2 separate regions of the Homo sapiens genome follow, and region 2 is linked to region 1. The links are contacts of gene promoters, found by promoter capture Hi-C in human tissues and cell types (Jung and others, 2019). All regions are on one chromosome and are shown on one strand. The core of a region is centred on a gene start or on the middle of the fragment in contact, and the rest is flanking DNA. Distances in the headings are between cores, read along the strand shown. Region 1 holds the start of BBC3 (BCL2 binding component 3). Region 2 has its middle 6.3 kb from the start of INAFM1.

What was found. Contacts are between HindIII fragments. The study calls those that stand out against the background at their distance.
Region 2: a contact is called between a fragment that was not itself captured here and the fragment with the promoter of BBC3 in region 1, in 3 of the 25 tissues and cell types used here (liver, neural progenitor cells and psoas muscle).

What each region holds. Positions count from the first base shown.
Region 1 is chr19:47,228,966-47,232,790 of GRCh38, reverse strand. BBC3 (BCL2 binding component 3) reads left to right here and starts at 1,592. Exons shown (of 4, transcript NM_014417.5): 1 at 1,592-1,862. RefSeq lists enhancers at 56-325, 1-375, 1,085-1,204 and silencers at 1,345-1,574, 1,715-2,434. The HindIII fragment of the contact is 48,720 bases long and covers 1-3,825 here.
Region 2 is chr19:47,279,261-47,283,032 of GRCh38, reverse strand. No RefSeq gene overlaps it. Among named protein-coding and RNA genes, the nearest start is that of INAFM1, 6.3 kb to the right of the region's middle. The HindIII fragment of the contact is 9,963 bases long and covers 1-3,772 here.

The DNA of each region.
Region 1 (3,825 bases), core at 343-2,842:
CACTGGAAGGTGAGTCACTCTGGTGAGGCGATTGCGATTGGGTGAGACCCAGTAAGGATGGAAAGTGTAGAGGAGACAGGAATCCACGGCTTTGGAAAAAGGAAGGACAAAACTCACCAAACCAGAGCAGGGCAGGAAGTAACAATGAGAAACTGAAAAAGAAACGGAATGGAAAGCTATGAGACAGGATGAAATTTGGCATGGGGTCTGCCCAGGCATGTCCATGCCAGGTGCCCAGGGCTGCTTCCACGACGTGGGTCCCCTGCCAGATTTGTGGTGAGTGTGGCCAGGTGTGCATGCTCCGACGTGTGTGCAGTGGGCCAGTTAGCAAGAAGCTGTCACAGGTGTGACTTTGTGACATGTGTGGGTGGTCAGTTTCTTCTATGTCTGATTTGGTTTGTGTCTCTGAATGTCAGTTTCTTTCCTTTATTTTTATTTTTAAGACGGAGTTTGCTCTTGTTGCCCAGGCTAGAGTGCAATGGCACTATCTCGGCTCACTGCAACCTCCGCCTCCCGGGTTCAAGCAGTTCTCCTGCCTCAGCCTCCCAAGTAGCTGGGATTACAGGCATGCGCCACAACGCCCGGCTAATTTTGTATTTTTAGTAGAGATGGGGTTTCATCATGTTGGTCAGGCTGGTCTCGAATTCCTGACCTCAGGCAGTCCACGCACCTTGGCCTCCCAAAGTGCTGGGATTACAGGCATGAGCCACCGTGTCGGGCGAATGTCACTTTCTGATAGTTTTAATGTGTTAGCTGTGAAATTGTGTGAGTGCATTTGTGTATGTCCCTGTGGGAGTGTGATTTGGATTTGGCCGTGTATCCAGGTATCCCTGTAACAGGTGTCTGTGTGTATGTGTGTGTCCCCTGTGCCTATCAGCAAGTTTGTGTTTCCTGATAAGCACTCCGCCTATGTCTGTGTGGTTGCACCACCGTGTGTGTGGTGTGGGTGCCTGTTCGGTAGGGTTGTTTGTGAACACAGTTTGTGGGCCCAGGTGTGATCATCAGTGTGGGTGTTTCTGCAACTGTGTGTGGCCCTGTCATTGTGTCCGTCTGCTTGTCCAGGGGACCCTGTTAGTGAGTCTGTGCATTTCCGTCTGGGTGTGTGTAAGTGTGAGCCCCATCAGTATGTGAGTGTGTGTGCTCATGCCCCTGTCCATGGTGTGGATTTGCGAGACTGTGGCCTTGTGTCTGTGAGTACATCCTCTGGGCTCTGCCTGCACGTGACTTTGTGGACCCTGGAACGCCCGTCGGTCGGTCTGTGTACGCATCGCTGGGGGTGTGGATCTGTGGGTCCCAGTCAGTGTGTGTGTCCGACTGTCCCGGTGTCTGGGCGATCTCCCCACACCCCGCCGCACAGCGCCTGGGTCCTCCTTGCCTTGGGCTAGGCCCTGCCCCGTCCCCCGCTGCAGGGAAACCCCCGGCGCGGAGGTAGGGGGGGGCGCGGCGCGCGCCTGCAAGTCCTGACTTGTCCGCGGCGGGCGGGCGGGGCCGTAGCGTCACGCGGGGGCGGGGCGTGGGACCCGCCGGGCGGGGGCGGGGCGGGGCGGGGCGGGGCGGCTTTGGAGCGGGCCCGGGATCCGCCGGGCGGCCTGAGACGCGGCGCGAGCCACATGCGAGCGGGCGCCTGGCGGCGGCGGCGGCGGCACCAGCGATCCCAGCAGCGGCCACGACGCGGACGCGCCTGCGGCCCGGGGAGCAGCAGCAGCCACAGCCACAGCAGCCGCCACTGCAGTTAGAGCGGCAGCAGCAGCGACAGCCACAGCAGCAGCCGCCGCGGAGAGCGGCGCTCGGCGGGCGCGCCCTCCTGAAGGAAGCCGCCCGCCCCCCACCGCCGCCCCCTCCGGCGTGTTCATGCCCCCGGGGTGAGTGTGCGCGCCCCGAATCCTCTCCGGCGGCGATCGGCCAGGCCGGGTGGACTCCCTGGAGGAGGTGACAGGAGTGCAGGCGGAGAGCAGTGTGGGCGCCCTGCCTCCCCACACCGCGCCTCTCCAAACCCCGCGAGGGACCCTGGGCCAGGGTCGCCGGGTGAGAGGCGGCTCGGCGTTGGGGCGCCGGTCTGGGCGCACAGGTGCCTCGGCGGTCTGGCGGGTTTGTTTACAAACAATGGGGTGCGGGCTCGGCAGCGCCCCCTGGCGGCCAGTGCGGCCCCGGGGAAGAGGGTCGACCCCAGGGGTGCCCCAGCCCCCAAAGTCCGGGAGGGGCGGGGGGGCGGCACGGAGGGGCGGCCACACCCAGGGCGCGCGCCCGCTGGGGGCGGCGACGGGGGGCGGCTCGCGGGCCGTGGAGTCTGCGGCTCCTGCGGGCGGGGGCTGCGCCCCAGCAACAGCCGGTTATTGGCCCCGCGCTCGCCTGGCGGGCGGGGCGGGCGCACGTGGCGGCGGTGGGGGGGGCTGTGACAGCGGAGGGGGGTGTCTGGGACCGCCGTGGGAGCGCGCGTGTGCGGGGTTGTGGATCTGCAGGTGTCTCGCCTGGGTGTGTGCGCGTGTCTGGCTCCGAGTTTGTGCTGGGTTCTGCAGGGAGTGGTGGTGTCGATCCAGAGGAATGTTGGGGTTTCTGACCCGTCGGGGTGTCTGCGTGAGTCCCCGCGCCTGTTTGTGTGGGGTTCTGTCTGTGGGTGCCCTGCTTGTGGGGTGGGTGGACCTGCGTGTGTTGTCGGTGAGAGTTGTCTGTGTGTGCTGTTCCGGGATGATACTGGGGGTCTGTGGTGCCTGCGTGTGCTGGGGTGTGGAGGTTGTAGTGTGTGTGTGTTGCTGGAGTGAGCTGTTTGTGTGTTTATGTGTGTGTCTTGCCCGAGCGTGCGATATGTGTGCTTGTGTCTTGCCTGTGTGTTTCTGTCTTGGCTGAGGCCGTCTCTGTATCTCCGGGGCATGTGTCTTTTGCCCAGCGTTTGTGATGCTGCGCCTGCTAAATGCAAATGTCTGTTTTCTGTCCAGGTGTCTGTGTGAGTTGTCAGGTGTGAGTGTGTGTGTGTATGTATGTGTGTGGTGGGGGGTTGTTTCAGTCTGGGTTTGGCTTGTGTGTCTGGCATCAGCGTCTGGGATTTGAGGACCCAGGATCTGTGGGGTCTATGCAGTGTAGACGGTGGGTGTTGCTGGCAGCCTCTGGATGGGGTTGTGTCTGAGCCTGTGTGTGTGTGTGTGTGTTGGGTCTGAGGGGCTTGTCACTGTGATCGGCTGGCTCATGTGTGTCATGTGGGCTGCGTGTGTGTAGTGTTTATGTCAGTCACGTGAGACCAGTGTTTTCTGTGGGTGCGCTAGGTGTGTGTGCTGCTGGGCTGTGTGGGATTAGAGTTAGCTGTAGGGTGTGTGTGTGTGTGTGTTGCTGACAGTTGGTGATGATGTTTGAGGGTTGCGTGAGGAGGGTGGGTTGGTGTCTGGTGGTGTGTTGAGGTCTGATGGCATGTGTCTGTGTGTGCCTGATCTACGTGTGTCCTGAGAGTTGGTGACATGTGGGTGTGTTTTGGGGGTGTTGATGTATGTGTGTCCGTGGGTGTCTGTTTTGTGTTGATATGTGAGTCCAGAGGTGTGCAGGTCTTATCTCTGGAGTGAGTGTGTGTGTGTGGAGAGGGGCATGTTTGGGAACTGAGGCAGTGCCTAGCTTGTGTGTGTGTGTTTGTGTTTGCAAAGGCTGCATTGTGTTTGCATGTGCCCCTGGGCATATCAACAGTGGGTCAGTGTGTGAGACTTTGACAGTTTGGATGTGTGGGGATGGATTGTGCCAGCCAGTGTGCGCAGTATGTAGAGTGCTTGTGATGGTCTGTCTGGATGCTCCTGCTTTGGTCGGGGGTGTGTGTGTATTGTGTGTACTGAGTAGTGATGTCCGAGA
Region 2 (3,772 bases), core at 318-2,817, 50 kb before region 1:
GAGGCCAAGACAGGAGGATCACTTGAGCCCTGGAATTCAAAACCAGCCTGGACAACATAGGGAGATCCTGTCTCTACAAAAAAATAAAAATTTAGCCAGGCATGGTGGCGCACACCTGTAGTCCCAGCTCCTCAGGAGGCTGAGGCAGGAGGACTGTTTGAGCCCAGGAGTTGGAGGCTGCAGTGAGCTATGACTGCATCACTGAACTCCAGCCTGGGCAACAGAGCGAGACTCTGCCCAAAAAAAAGTTCAAACAAAATATTGTACATGCATGCTCACAGCAGCACTATTCACAATAGCCAGAAGGTGGAAGCAACCCAACTGTCTATCAACAAATGAACGGATAAACAAAATGTGCAAAATGTGGCCTATCCATACAATGGAAATTTTTTTTGGAGACAGAGTCTCACTCTGTCGCCCAGGCTGGAGTGCAGTGGTGCGATCTCAGCTCACTGCAACCTACACCTCCTGGTTCAAGCAATTCTCCTGTCTCAGCTTCCTGAATAGCTGGGATTACAGGTGTGCACCATTACACCTGGCTAATTTTTGTGTTTTTAGTAGATACTGGGTTTCACCATGTTGGCCAGGCTGGTCTTGAACTTCTGACCTCAGGTGATCCACGCACCTCGGCCTCCCAAAGTGCTGGAATTACAGGCATGAGCCACTGCGCCCGGCCAATGGAATGTTATTTAGCCATAAAAAGGAATGAAGCAGGCGGGCACGGTGGCTCACCCCTGTAATCCCAGCACTTTGGGAGGCCGAGGCAGGTGGATCTTGAGGTCAAGAGATTGAGACCAGCCTGGCTAACATGGTGAAACCCCGTCTCTACTAAAAACACACAAAAAAACTAGCTGGGCGTGGTGGCATGCGCCTGTAGTCTCAGCTACTAGGGAAGCTGAGGCAGAAGAATCACTTGAACCTGGGAGGCAGAGGTTGCAGTAAGCCGAGATTGCACCACTGCACTCCAGCCTGGTGACAGAGCAACACTCCGTCTCAAAAAAGAAAAAAGAAAAAAAAAAACAAGGAATGAAGCACTGATACTTGCTTTCACCCAGAAAAGCCTTGACAACAGGACGCTGCGGCCGGGTGCGGTGGTGCGGTGGCTCACGCCTGTAATCCCAACACTTTGGGAGGCCAAGGCGGGCGGATCACCAGGTCAGGAGATCAAGACCATCCTGGCTAACACAGTGAAACCTCGTTTCTACTAAAAACACAAAAAATTAGCCGGGCGTGGTCGCCAGCACCTGTAGGCCCAGCTACTCAGGAGGCTGAGGCAGGAGAATGGCATCAACCCGGGAGGCAGAGCTTACAGTGAGCCGAGATTGCGCCACTGCACTCCAGCCTGGGCGACAGAGCGAGACTCCATCTCAAAAAAAAAAAAAAGAAAAGAAAACATGACTCAAGTGAAATAAGCCAGACACAAAAGGCCCTGTATGTTATGATTGCTTTTATATAAAATGTCCAGAACAGGCATATTTATATAGACAGAAAGTAGATGAGTGCTCGCCAGGGGCTGAGGGGAGGGGGAATGGGGAGATGGTGTTTAATGGGTACGGGGTTTCATTTTGGGAAGACGAAAACATTTTAAAGATGAATGGTGGTGATGGTTGCACAACACTGTAAATGTACTTAGTGCCACGAAACTGTGCACTTTAAAGCAGTTAAAATGGGCCAGGCACAGTGGCTCATGCCTGTAATCCCAGCACTTTGGGAGGCCGAGGCAGTGGATCACCTGAGGTCAGGAGTTTGAGACCAGCCTGGCCAATATGGTGAAGCCTCGTCTCTACTAAAAATACAAAAATTAACCGGGCATGGTGGCACATACCTGTAATCCCAGCTACTTAGGAGGCTGAGGCAGGAGAATCACTTGAACCTGGGAGGTGGAGGTTGCAGTGAGCAGAGATCGCCCCACTGCACTCCAGCCTGGGTGGCAGAGCAAGACTCTGTCTCAAAAAAAAAAAAAAAGATGGTAAGATGATTAAAATGGTAACCTTTATGCTATGTGTATTTTTATCAGTATACACACACAACACACACACTTTTTTTTTTTTGAGACAAGGTCTCACTCTGTCACCCAGACTGGAGTGCAGTGATACAATCACAGCTCACTGCAGCCTCAACTCCTTAACTCAAGCAATCCTCCTGCCTCAGCCTCCAGAATAGCTGGGACTACAGGCACAAGCCATCACGCCTGGCTGATTTTTTATTTAGTGTACAGATGGGGTCTCGCTATGTTGCCCAGGCTAGTCTTGAACTCCTGAGCTCAAACATTTCTCCAGCCTCAGCCTCCCAAAATGCTGGGATTGCAGGTATGAGCCACCATGCCTTGCTTTTACTTTTTTCATTTTAAAAAAAAAAGTTTATTTTTATTTTGTAGAGACGGGGTCTCACTATGTTGCCCAGGTTGGGCTTGAACGCCTGGGCCCAAGTGATATTCCTGCCTTGGCCTCCCAGGGTGCTGGGAGGTGATCGCAGGTGTGAGCCTCTGCACCCAGCCCACACACGGATTTTTGACCACTTCTCCCCTCCTCCCCAGCCAACACTCTAGCACAGCCACCATGGTCTCTCACCTGAACCAGGGCGGTGGTGTCCTCATTGGGCTCCTGGCTTCCACCATCGCCCCCTGCAGTCCATTCTCCACATCGCAGTCAGAAGGTCTTGAGATCTGAATCAGCGCACACCCTCCTCACCTCAGAAGCCTCCCATGGCTCCCACCTCATCCAAAGTGCACATTGTGGCCGGGCACAGTGGCTCACGCCTGCAATCCCCGCACTCTGGGAGGCTGAGGCGGGTGGATCACTTGAGGTTAGGAGTTTGAGACCAGCTTTAGCAACATGGCGAAACCCTGTCTCTACTAAAAATACAAAAATTACCTGGGTGTGGTGGCACGTGCCTGAAATCCCAACTACTCAGGAGGCTGAGACTCGAGAGAATCACTTGAACCAGGGAGATGAAGGTTGCAGTGAGCCGAGATCGCGCCACTGCACTCCAGCCTAGGTGACAGAGTAAGACTGTCTCAAAAAAAAAAAAAAAATTGCATTCTGTGGTCCATGAGGCCCTGATCAAGCTGCCTGTCCTCTCTTGCCTCACCTCCTCCTCTTGCTCTCCCCACTCCCTCTTGCTTCAGCCACTCTGGCCTCTTCGCTATTCCTTCAACAAGCCAGGCACACCACCCCGAAGGTTTTTGCACTTACTGTTCCCTCAGCCCCCAGAGACCTGCCAGCCTCACCCTCACCAGTCTTGGGCTTCTACCCAGTAACCACACCCTCCATCATCCCCATCACCCTTACCCTGCTTTCACTCAAAGTTATGAATCACATTTCTTGTCTTTGTCCCCGCTAATATTTAGTTCCATTAAGAACAGGAATTTTTTTTTTTTTTCTTTGAGACAGAGTCTCACTCTGTCACCCAGGCTGGAATGTAGTGGTGCAACCTTGGCTCACTGCAACTTCCCCATCCTGGATTCAAGCAATTCTCCTGCCTCAGCCTCCCAAGTAGATGTGATTACAGGCACCCACCACCACGCCCAACTAATTTTTGTATTTTTAGTAGAGACGGGGTTTCACCATGTTGGCCAGGCTGGTCTGGAACTCCTGACTTCAGGTGATCCGCCCTCCTAGGTCTCTCAAAGTGCTGGGATTACAGGCATGAGCCACCGCACCCGGCTATTAACTGAATTTCTTGTCTGTGTTCCCACTAATATTCAGTTCCATTGAGAGCAGGAATTTTTTTTTTTTTGAGACAGGGTCTTGCTCTCTTGCCCAGGCTGGAG